2 separate regions of the Homo sapiens genome follow, and region 2 is linked to region 1. The links are contacts of gene promoters, found by promoter capture Hi-C in blood cells and fetal thymus (Javierre and others, 2016). All regions are on one chromosome and are shown on one strand. Each heading gives the region's core, a stretch centred on a gene start or on the middle of the fragment in contact. The rest is flanking DNA. Distances are from core to core; before and after follow the strand shown. Region 1 holds the start of ZRANB2-AS1 (ZRANB2 antisense RNA 1). Region 2 overlaps CRYZ (crystallin zeta).

Region 1 (6,130 bases), core at 3,571-6,070:
TCAATCTCTAGGAAGCCAAGCTAAAAGAGCATGGAAAACCATGAGAATGAAGCAGAGATACCAAGAGCAGCATGCCCCATGGGAGGCAATATTGGCAGTTTGAATCCGGACAAGTTAACTGTCAAACAGAGCAAACAAACATAAAATAGATAATACTCAGGGAAAAAAACCCGGTAGACTCCAGAGTCATTACAATATATTACAATGTCCAGTTTTCAATTAAAAAAAACAGGCATGTAAAGAATAGGAAGAAAAGACAGCAGAAAAGGCATTCATAGAAAGGGACTCTTTGATCTAGCAAAGACTTCTAGGCATTGCTTTTATTTTGATACAGTAATTACATTGATTGATGTTTAAATGTTAAGTCTACATTGCACTGTACTTCCATGACAATCATTCTGAGAAGACAAAAGCCATGGGATCAGTGTTTCTCCTGTTATTTGGCACTTAGAATCAGTAATTTTGCACTAAAATATAAACCCCATGAATATAGGCACTGTTATGTATTGCTTTTGTATCCCTAATGACTGAAACAGTGTCTGACATAGATTGGGTGCTCAATGAATGGTTATTGAATGAATGAATGACTAAAATATAAACTAAAATTACTGGTTGGCTCCATGAAGAAAGACTTTCAGATATTTTCCATCCATAGTGAGGCAATCAAAGGCTGATCATGTGACTCATTATTAATCTTATTTTGTATCCATATTTAAGATTTTTAAATAGATGTTTAATAGAAGTAAATAGCAAAATAAATTCATCATCACTAGCTAAATATTGACATACATTATACATTTTAAGCTGTAGGGTACAATTAAGTAATCTGTGAATTTAAAACATGTCCAGGTTAGAATTTCATTGAAAACATAATAGGTGAATATATACTTTAAATTAAAAAAAAATGAATATCTGGTCTTTCAGTTTAATCCTCTACTGGTTTATTGACTGTTAAACAAAGTTGCCAATTTGTAACCTCAAAGGAAAACAAAGTGACCACAATTATGTACTGATAAGTAGATCTCTAGGAAAGAAATCAGAGATTCCCTAAGCAAAGCATCCATTGGCCCTATGGAAATTCTCTTTAAAACAGCATAAAGCATGTTATTAGCCTTTTGGTCACTAGAGGGTGGTGTTGTTTCAGACCAACACAATTCACACTATATCCGTAGTAACTGACCAGAAAGTACCAACCAGAATCCAACTGCCAGCTTCACACTGTTACTCCACAAAACCTCACAGTCACTTGTTTACAAGGTGAATAGCTAAAGGCAGACAATATAGGATGAAGCAAAGTGCTGAAAGAAGAGAAATACCCAAATTATCTGAAATGCAACACATTTTGTTCATTGGCATAGAGGTTAGTGAGAGGCTAACAATTCTTTACTAATACATGCCCCGACGCTTACCATGCTTATCAAGTCCAATTGGCTACAGCAAGCACTTCAGTGGGAGAAGTAAAAGTTTCAAAGAAGTCAAATATTTGTGAATAAAAATGAGAATAGTTTTTGATGTAACTGGAAAAAGATAAGCCTTGCTTCCTTTGCTGTGTGAATGGTGATATGGTCTTAAATTTTAAATATTGAATTACACTAGAATTTTACTAACTATAGATGGTATAAACTTGATAGCCACTTTCATCCAAATGCTTTGGATAAAGCTTTGTCTAAGAATAACCTCAAATATTATTTTATTTTCAAATGATATTAGGCTAGAAAAATACTATCCCAAATACAGGTTTGAGATTAATTCAAAATAATAAGACAAAAGTTTACGGAAGATTTTAGAATCAAACCATTTCACCCTTCCTAGCTGTTGTTCCCATTGTAAACGTGACATTTTAGTCAGTAAAACGCAAAAGTGCAAAACATTTTTAAATGACAGCAAAACACAAAATGAAATTCATGTTGTGATTAATGCATCTTATTAAAATGGAGTTTAAGTTGCATTCTTGCTTTTCCTTCTTTAAAAAACATATAATGTTATAGTGATATTTTTTCAAACTCTCATACAGAATCAAGACAACAGCACATAAAGTATGCAGAGGGACATATCCCATTCTTACCTCTTAACAGTAATTTAAAAGTTAAGAACACCCATACAGAACATCAGCTAAGCTAGGAAAGGCAAAACTGATTGGGCTTGTTCTGAAAGTTGATCTGTGTCAATCAAAATAATGGTCTTTAGAGTGCTATATGATTAAGTCTAATTTCTTAAATATGAGGAAAAATGAACTTTGCAATTATTTTTAAAAATCTTTTCATCTCTTAGACAGTGTAAAAAGGCAAAAAGCAAAAAACACAAGACTTTCCCAAGATTAGGGGAAGATGATCTCACCGTTAATATTCATCTGCTGAGAGCAGTTATGGGACCCATGTCAGGAATACATGCTTCAAATAAGATGGGACTTGAGAATTGCTGAGAGACTTCAGGAACATTCTTTAACTTCATGGGGCCTCAGTTACCCCACCTTTAAGGGAAATAATAATAGCAATAGTACCTTGGAGGATTTCTGTGATAAAATGAGAAAATGCTTGTGAGAAGTACATAAAATATTGGCTTACTGAAAGATGTTACGAGGCAAGCAAGTATGCCTATTTTCATTCAATGTTTATTATTTCAAAGGCAAAGTTTCCATATAGATTAAGGCCTTCATAACATCTGAATACCTTTTCTAGTTCTTATTGTATGAAGATAAGAAGGATGGTTGGAGGCTTTGTAAGGAATACCTTTCTCTTCTGCTCCCCTCTCACTCCCATAGGCTGGGAGCAGTTGATTTCACTACCTCAGATATGCAAATTGATGCCACCTTCCTGTAGCCACTTTTGCCATAGCTGACCTTTTTGTTGGGTGGTGGGGAGGGGAGCGGGCAGGATTAGGCGAGGGGTAGTAGTTGGGATTTCTTGGTCTTGGAATTCAACCATCCGATGTATTTGTTTCCCTGTGTCTATTCCCTTAAGTCTACAGGCACTGTCTAGTAATTTTATAGTTTTCAGCGGCACCCCAGGGGACAGGACACCTTGGCCTTTTTATAATCACTCTAGAGTCACAAAGCAGAAAGGAAAAAAGTTAACGATCAGCTATGCAAAGGCTTGTGTGGATTGCTTAAGGACAGGCGATTTTCACTTTACCAGAGTTACTAAAGGACTTCAGGAGAAGGATCCCGTCCCTGTAGGAGCGTTTGTGGTTGAAGAAGCAGGAGGACGAGCGCTCAGGTGCGCCTCGGCAGTTTGCCTGGGGTCCGCAAGTCCAGTGCTACTTATTAGCTGCTTGCCGTCCACCGACACTTTAGCGGAGAACTGGAGGAGACCCCAGTGGGCTCCCGGTCCGGCCAGGAGCAGGGCGTTTCAGAGGAGACCGTCTGGGGCTTCCCAACCCAGGCGATCAGGATAGGCAACAGCCAAGAGAGGCGCTCAGTTGCTTTGCACCCTCCTCCCACCTCGGTTCTGTCCACACCCACGGGCGCCCCGCCCCCTCGGCCTTATAAAGGGGACTCGGCACCTCCGCGCGCCTCGCCACCAGAGGTTTCCCAGAGAGGAAGGCGTGGCTCCCTCCCGGGCCAGTGAGCCCTGGCGCCGCCGCGGCCGCGGTCCCAGCAGCGGAGTAGGGCGGCGGCTGCGCCCCGCACCATGGGGGGCAGCCCAGCCCCAGCCGCGGTAAACGCCGACCTCCGCCGCCGCCCGCGCCGCGTCTGCCCCCTCCCGCTGCGGCTCTCTGGACGCCATCCCCTCCTCACCTCGAAGCCAACATGAAGGAGACCCGGGGCTACGGAGGGGATGCCCCCTTCTGCACCCGCCTCAACCACTCCTACACAGGCATGTGGGCGCCCGAGCGTTCCGCCGAGGCGCGGGGCAACCTCACGCGCCCTCCAGGGTCTGGCGAGGATTGCGGATCGGTGTCCGTGGCCTTCCCGATCACCATGCTGCTCACTGGTTTCGTGGGCAACGCACTGGCCATGCTGCTCGTGTCGCGCAGCTACCGGCGCCGGGAGAGCAAGCGCAAGAAGTCCTTCCTGCTGTGCATCGGCTGGCTGGCGCTCACCGACCTGGTCGGGCAGCTTCTCACCACCCCGGTCGTCATCGTCGTGTACCTGTCCAAGCAGCGTTGGGAGCACATCGACCCGTCGGGGCGGCTCTGCACCTTTTTCGGGCTGACCATGACTGTTTTCGGGCTCTCCTCGTTGTTCATCGCCAGCGCCATGGCCGTCGAGCGGGCGCTGGCCATCAGGGCGCCGCACTGGTATGCGAGCCACATGAAGACGCGTGCCACCCGCGCTGTGCTGCTCGGCGTGTGGCTGGCCGTGCTCGCCTTCGCCCTGCTGCCGGTGCTGGGCGTGGGCCAGTACACCGTCCAGTGGCCCGGGACGTGGTGCTTCATCAGCACCGGGCGAGGGGGCAACGGGACTAGCTCTTCGCATAACTGGGGCAACCTTTTCTTCGCCTCTGCCTTTGCCTTCCTGGGGCTCTTGGCGCTGACAGTCACCTTTTCCTGCAACCTGGCCACCATTAAGGCCCTGGTGTCCCGCTGCCGGGCCAAGGCCACGGCATCTCAGTCCAGTGCCCAGTGGGGCCGCATCACGACCGAGACGGCCATTCAGCTTATGGGGATCATGTGCGTGCTGTCGGTCTGCTGGTCTCCGCTCCTGGTAGGTAGTTCCAGGGTTGGGGGAAGTCAGGATGCGTGTGCGAGTAAGCGGGAACCTAAGACTTTGCTAAGTGGCAGCACCCGCAGGGGTGTGTTTGCAACCGCAGAGCGCTGAAGTGTCCTTTCCTCCTGCCCGCGCGGTCTTGGTTACAGCTTCAGAGCTGAGCTCCTCACTTACTAGCTGAGCGCCTTCCAAGAGCCAGGATTCGCATTAGGCACTGTTTATGAGCACATAGAGATCACAGGGCTGCTCACATTCTAGTCGGGTAGGAGACAGGATGTGTCATTGAAATGACATATATGCAGAGCTAGAAGTTTGTCCTGAGTGCATTAAAAGCAGAATTGCTATGATAACTGTAGCCTGATATTGTGGGGTTTTTTTTTTTTTTTTTTTTTGAGACGGAGTCTCGCTCTGTCACCCAGGCTGGAGTACAGTGGCGCAGCCTCGGCTCACTGCAAGCTCCGCCTCCCGGGTTCACGCCATTCTCCTGCCTCAGCCTCTCCGAGTAGCTGGGACTACAGGCGCCCGCCACCACGCCCGGCTAATTTTTTTTTTTTATTTTTAGTAGAGACGGGGTTTCACCGTGGTCTCGATCTCCTGACCTCGTGATCCACCCGCCTCGGCCTCCCAAAGTGCTGGGATTACAAGCGTGAGCCACCGCGCCCGGCCGGGTTTTTTTTTTTTAATTTCAAATTCCTCTTTCACGTTAATAAGATTTTCAGTCTGCAACCCCATACAGTCACAGCCCTCCTGCAGCTTCTGAAAGACTGCGCGACCTATGGGTGCCTTCAAGGTTCATTCTTGATGAGGCAGGAGAATGAAAGATACGAGTTGCCTCCTCAGCCTTTCGCCATGGTGCTTGACCCTCTAGGAAGTGCCCGAACGACAGTCAGTGGGATCCGGAAGCTCAGCAGCTTCTTCAGGCCAGCATTTACTTACCCTTGTAGCACTCAAGCAGGGTTCGCTAATCCTGAGATAGGAGGTAGAGGTTTCTCCATGTCCTAGCTCCTCACACCAGAGCAATGCAGAGGAGCAAGGGATGTTTGCAGAGGCTCTTTGCCTAACACCTGCCCTTACGTGATATTTTTGAGGTTTTTTTGTCTGTGTTACTTTTAGCTAGAAATGTCCGTGTGTAAGTGCTGTTTACTAATTCCTGAAGAATGGATGCTTACTTAGGCCCTGGGGTGTCTGGGTTAATAGATGTTGCAGAAAGAGCGATATGGTCACTGTTACAAAGGTATAACCAACTATATGTATTATACAGTTGTGGAAAACCTTTGAAACACGTGAACGCAGTTTTTTTTCTTTCCTAATTATGGTAAAATATATTACATACAATTCAGTATTTTAACCATTATTATGTGTACAGTTCAGTGGCATTAGGCATTAAGTACGTTGAGTTTTTTGTGCGCCATGTATACTTTTAAATCCCTTGCATTTGAAAATAGAAATGTAATTTCTTTAACCTGGTTTGGTAGATTGGAG
Region 2 (6,090 bases), core at 3,056-5,555, 3.7 Mb before region 1:
ATTAGGATAAATTACTGTCATAATATTGGTTATTGGCATCTGATATTTCTCAGGGAGAATGGTTGCTGGTAGTTAAGCCCTGGGAGAGAGTGGCTATAAGTGGAGGAAAATTCAGGAACTGTGATGCTTGATTTTCTTTCTGGGGAATGCAGTGTCTCCTTGATTGGAGCTGGATTTGGGGTGGGAGAGAAAGCCTATGTGCCAGGTCTTAGTCTTCAGTGACTAGAAGATGGTAAAGGACAGCAGCATGGAAGGCCAGGCTGAGTGTTATGAGCACCAGGGAAGATGACTGTATTAGTCAGGGTTCTCCAGAGAAACAAACAACGGGATGTGTGTCTGTCTGTCTATCTATCAGTCAATCATCTATCTATTTGATCTTCTATTTGATCTGATCTATCATTTATCTCTATATAAATTCCTTAAGAATCAGTCACTCTGTACACATACACACACACACACACACACGCGCACACAGATTGATTGATTTTAAAGAGTTGACCCATGAAATTGTGGAGGACTGGTGAGTCTAAAATCTGTTGCGGTGGGCCAGCAGATGGGAGACACAAGGAAGAGGTGCAGTTTAAGTCCATAGAAAGTTTGCTGGCTGAATTTACTCTTGCTCATCGGAGGTCAGTCTTTGAAAACAAAAGCCTTCAACTGATTGGATGAGGCCCACCCACATTCTAGAGGGTCATCTGCTTTACTCAAAATCCAGCTATTCCATTGTTAATCTCATTCGAAAAAAAAAAAAAAACACTGTTTCTGTAACAGAGTAATGTTGGAACAAATATTGGGTTCCTTGGCCCAGTCAAGTTGACACATAAAATTAACTGTCACAGCGACTCTGTGCAAGGATTCAGGAGGGGATTTGCCTGCTTTTTCTCCCCTCACCCCAGGCCCCAGGGATTTATGAGAATGTGTCTTTAGTGTTTGAGGGGCATCTTATAAGAATTTTTGAAAAATTTCTTTGGGAGGTATTTCATATCCCATAGTTTAACACTAGTCATCCTATCCCCTTATGTTTATGTTTTACTTTAACATATTGTCCTCAGTCCCTTCAGCTCTAAGCAAGAGTGTGGGAGAAAGCTTCACTTATTGCTCATTGTTGCCACTTCTCAGCTGTTGGTGCATAGCTGGGAGCAGGACTCTGGTTACTGTTCTCTTTCCCAGGTGGAGCATAATGTTCTATAATGTCTCTGCAGTGTGGCCACCCCACATTGTTTGAGGAAGTAAGAGAGCCTTCCTGAGAGTCAGATCTGGATCTCACAGCATCTGCTGGCTTTTGACATTGGCACCGTCCATCTGGAATAGTGAGGCATCCCCTCATGCCTTGCTGCATGTCCCTTCTTTTCAGTACATACTAGAAAAGTAGTCATGTGAACTGGAAGTAAAAAGAAAATGCCATTTCACCAGAGAATCTGGACATTTCAGGGGGATGACATGGGAATCTTTGTGATAGAATTTATTGCATTTCCTACTCTCTGACCTTTGCTAACTCAGCATTCCTCCCTGAAAGAGTACAAGGCTGGTGCAACCTGATGTTCAGAGACATGGAGAAGAAAAATTTCTTTCTTTCCTTGGGCAAAAAAAATAGCTACTGTGTTTACTTGGACATTACTCTAGACCACAGAATAAAGACTGAGCTATATAATAAACCTGCTTTGAGGCCCTTTCTGTGGGGGATATATGGGAATGAGAGATTCCAGATCCTCCAGGCTCAGCAATTTTACTTCACAACCCACAAGGACTGTAGCCACTCAGAAGTAGCACCACATAGTCATCCCAGTGTCCAGCAGCATAGTGCCTGGAACATAAAGACTCCCAATAAATATTTGTTCAAGGAATAAATGAATTGAAGGCTTTGTTTATTCTGTGGAGCTTAGGGAATATTTGGGGCTGTATGTCAGGTTGCATTTGCTGTTTGTGTAAGTGTTAGCCAGACTAGGGGTAGAAATTCCTTAAGATGATGAAAACACCCGAGATTAATTAGCTTCAAAAAATAAGGTGATGTAACTTATGCTTTCCTTTGCAGTGCCTGTGTGAAAGCTGGAGAGAGTGTTCTGGTTCATGGGGCAAGTGGAGGAGTAAGTATTTTTTTTAATGTATTTTGAAACAAGCTTGGGTTTATGGGTTTCACATTATAGTTCCTTTGGTCATTTTTAAAAGTCAGATTTATAAATAGAGTCAAAGGTGCTTTTTTTCTTTATGTAGTAAAACTTTTGATTTTGGTCTTCTGAAGGTGATGTTTTGTCATTAGTTTAGCATTTCTTGGTTAATAAACTCAACAGAGCACCCCTTCAAAAATATGTTAGATTTTCCACCTGTATTGGGTGTAGACTAAGATAAACTGGCCTTGTTTTTGCCTTCAAGTAGCATATGTTATAAAAATATTTATTTAGAATTTTAAACAGTTCTTTAAGGTTGATATTAATTCCATATTCCCTTAGATAAGGAAACTAAGGCTCATTAAAGCTTACCTATGTTGCCCCAGACAGCACGGTAAAGCCACACTGTGAATTCTTAGTCCTTCTATCTCCCTTCTGCTGCTTGCCTGCTGCACTTTGATGACATCCATGGAGTGCACGTATACAGCCCTGTCCTTAACACCACAACCCATGGCTGAAAATGCTAATGTGGGGGAATGGGGGAGGAGGACTCAGAACTTAAAATAAGCCCTTCAATGAAATCACCCAATGCAGGGCTGTCAGAAACCTCTTCGAGAAACTAGCTGCCAATCTGCCTCTCAGGAGCTTAGAGGGAAAAGTTAGAGCTCTGCAGTTAGAATTTAACAAGAAATCCACATGAACTCTGTCACTGGATGCTTTGGAAATTTTGGAGATAAGATTTTGCATTTTAAAAATAAAAGGCCTGGGGCTAGATGCTTACTTTGAGGAGGCTGTTAACCATTTCAGAGCACTGTGTATTCTGGAGAGTGGATTGAAAGAAGTAACCTATTAAATGGCACATAGTCCCCTGAATAATGAGTGGTATCCTGAAAATGTGAATTTACCTTTAAAAGTGCCCAGGTAATTTCAGTCCTTTTTGTCTCTCTGTTTCTTTAGGTAGATGAATCACGAGGTTTCACACCTAGCTTCCTACACTTCAAATAGATCAATTCTAAAGGATTTCACAGATCAAACAATTTATGAAAAAACACTAGGATTGTCTTTATGGGGCTTGAGACAATATGACAGATATACCTTGTCCAAAACTCCCACTGTTTAACTTCACTGAAGAGGCTATTTTTGGGTTAAATTAAATTTAACCCTAAGTAACTAAAGGGTCTGTCAAACACATACATTTATTTAAATTACCCTGGCTTTCAGAGAGCTAACTTAGTGCTCTGTGCAGAAGGGAAAGATTTCAGTAGGAAGGGGAGAGAAGAGTTTAAAGAAAATCTCTTTATATTCCCTTTACCCTCTTGTAAAAAGCCCAGTTGCTTCACCATGATTTTTTTTTAAGGTAAAATCCACACTGTTCTCTGAGCTGGCTGAGTTTGTTAAATCCTCAGCTGGCAGGGATAGGCTGGTGACCTGGTGTGTGAAGTGCTTCTGATCCTCCCTGTCCTATCAGAGGGAAACAGTACTGGGTTTTGCCTTGCTTCTGTTTGTACTTTCTGTCCTCATTTAATTCGAATTCCTTTGGGATTATGTTGTGTGTTTAAAATGGTGTGGAATTTATGAACACAGCTATTATCCAGATATGTTGGTGAGGAGTGCCCTATTTTAGTGTTAGCAAAATAAGTAGAAGAAAAATAGTTGACACATAATGGTGCATAATCTGTTGAAGGATCATTGCTGGTATAATTGTTGACAAGAATAGAATAAACAGTGCCTTTTTAAAAGAGCTATTGAGTGCCCTTTTAAAGCAGTTAGAACACAAGGAGATGTAGTTACGTTAGCTTTTTAAAGTGTGGTTTTATTAGAGGTCTTTTATTTAAATTTGAAAATTAAAATAGAAAATTAATTGTGCCCACCCCATAGTGGGTTGTGTTTTATCTAATTGGATGTCTCTCTCCTCCATCAGACAGTGAGTTTCATGTATTTGTTTGTTTCAGTTAAACAAATTCCTGCCATAACCTGGCTGAGTCCAGCCTCGTTATTCCCATGTGCCATACAATCTTTAAGGTCCACTTCAGGCCTGGAAGTCTGTTACAGCTTTAATCTGTTTCTATCATTATTTTTCATCTTAATTCTTTTCTTGCCGAACCCGGTCCTCCCTGTAAATCACTGGTTATGAGTAGCGGGTGATTTTGCATCATTTCTCCTTCCGCTCTGGGACATTTGGCAATGTCTGAAGACATATTTGGTTGTCACAACTTGGGGAAGGGGTTCTGGCATCTAGAGAGTAGATATCCTTCAATACATGGGATAGTCTCCCACAGCAAATAATTATCTGGCCCAAAATGTTGATAGTGCCAAGTTTGGGAAACTCTGCTCTAAATGTATGTGACACTTATTTGTACCATCATTTGTCATCTAATCAGATATATTTCCTAGTATTGTTATTTAAGTAATTGCTCTTTTGTCTATATTCTTAAATTACTTTGATTTCTCTTTTATACTAAGCACATTTATCTGGTATTCTAGTGATTTCTTACAATCCCAGCATTTTGGGAGGCTGGGATTTTGCCAGGTTGCCCAGGCTGGTATCGAATTCCTGACCCCAGGTGATCCACTCACCTCAGCCTCCCAAAGTGCTGGGATTACAGGCATGAGCCACCATGTTCCACCTAATCCTTTGGCTTTAAATACCATCCGTAAGATAATGAATCTCTAATATATATCTCCAGTTGAACCCTTTTGAGTCCATACTCATATTCAACTGATTGCTGAACATCTTCGCCCGTAAGTAGATGAGCACTGTGCAGCTCAGCATGTTACAAGTGATTCTTTTATTTTTATTTTTTAGAGACAGGGTCTTGCTCCGTTGCCCAGACTGGAGTGCAGTGGCATGATCACTGCAATCCCAAACTCCTCAAATTCCTGGGCCCAAGCGATCCTCCTGCCTCAGCCTCCCACATAGCTGGGATTACAGGCATGCGCCACCACACTTGGCAAAGTGAAATCTGGAGATTTTCACAAACTTAGTGTTCTCCAGTCTTCTCACTCTACCCAGTTAATCTGGCCAAAGACATAGGAGACAGCCTGTATTTTTCTCTTTTCCTCATCTCCCGCATTCAATCTGTGAGGAAGTCCCATTAGCTTACCTCTAAACTATATCTGAATTTGTTTATTTTTTCCAGTGCCACCACCTTTGTTCAAGCCAGCTTCATCTCTTATCTAGACTGTTCTAACAGCTACAAACTGATCTTCCTCCTCCCATTTTCCTCACCGCTTTCTTTGTGCCTCACATGTAATTGGAGCAACCTTTTTAAAGCCTGAGTCAACCAGATCATTTCCTGGCTTAAGCTCTCCCGTGGTTCTGCACAGGTTTTAATATACTCGGAAGCCTCTACCCTCACCCCTCAGATTCTGTGTGACTTGGCCTTTCTGGCCTCATCTTCGACCCTTTCGTACACGCCCCTCCCTGAGACACACTGCCCCTCTTTCTGTTCTTTGACCCCAACTGCATTCCCACCTCGCCAGGTTAGCCATGGCCATTCACTATGCCCACAGCATCCTCCACGTGGCTGACCGGATGTTCTCGTGGCTTGTTCCTCACTTTTTTCAGGTCTCATTTTTTCAGAGTGGCTCTTCCTGATGACCTAAATAGCCCCTATTCCTGTCTCTTTAACCCAACAGCCAGTCTTATTTTTTCTTAGCACTTTTATTTCCTGAATTTATTTTATTCATTCATATGACTATTATCTTCCTCCACCCTTAGAATATAAGTTTATTTCTTACATTAAGTACCATGTCTAGCACATCGTAAACACTCTATAAACATTCACCATATGGATGAATTAGTTAATTTGCCCATATACCTATCTCTTCTACTTAAATGGTGGAGGCCTTACATTTGTTATTTAGAATTTCATATGCACAAAGAAGTCAGAGAGCATGTTCTGATCATCTTTAAACCCTGCAAACATCTTGATGCAGTGGTTAAAAACTCAAGTTCTGCAGTCAGACTGGTCTAACTCCTGTT

Evidence for each region. Contacts are between HindIII fragments. The CHiCAGO score rates a contact against its expected background, and 5 or more counts as called.
Region 2: a contact is called between a fragment that was not itself captured here and the fragment with the promoter of ZRANB2-AS1 in region 1, in 2 of 17 cell types (naive CD8 T cells and total CD4 T cells). The highest score is 9.0, in naive CD8 T cells.

The regions. Positions count from the first base shown.
Region 1 is chr1:71,045,196-71,051,325 of GRCh38, reverse strand. It overlaps ZRANB2-AS1 (ZRANB2 antisense RNA 1), which reads right to left and starts at 4,820. Exons shown (of 3, transcript NR_038420.1): 1 at 3,737-4,820; 2 at 2,338-2,512. It overlaps PTGER3 (prostaglandin E receptor 3), which reads left to right and starts at 3,510. Exons shown (of 4, transcript NM_198719.2): 1 at 3,510-4,645. The coding sequence starts at 3,749. RefSeq lists an enhancer at 3,513-4,096. The HindIII fragment of the contact is 6,286 bases long and covers 1,663-6,130 here.
Region 2 is chr1:74,710,573-74,716,662 of GRCh38, reverse strand. It overlaps CRYZ (crystallin zeta), which reads left to right. Exons shown (of 9, transcript NM_001889.4): 5 at 2,033-2,084. Among named protein-coding and RNA genes, the nearest start is that of CRYZ, 19 kb to the left of the region's middle. The HindIII fragment of the contact is 3,662 bases long and covers 2,475-6,090 here.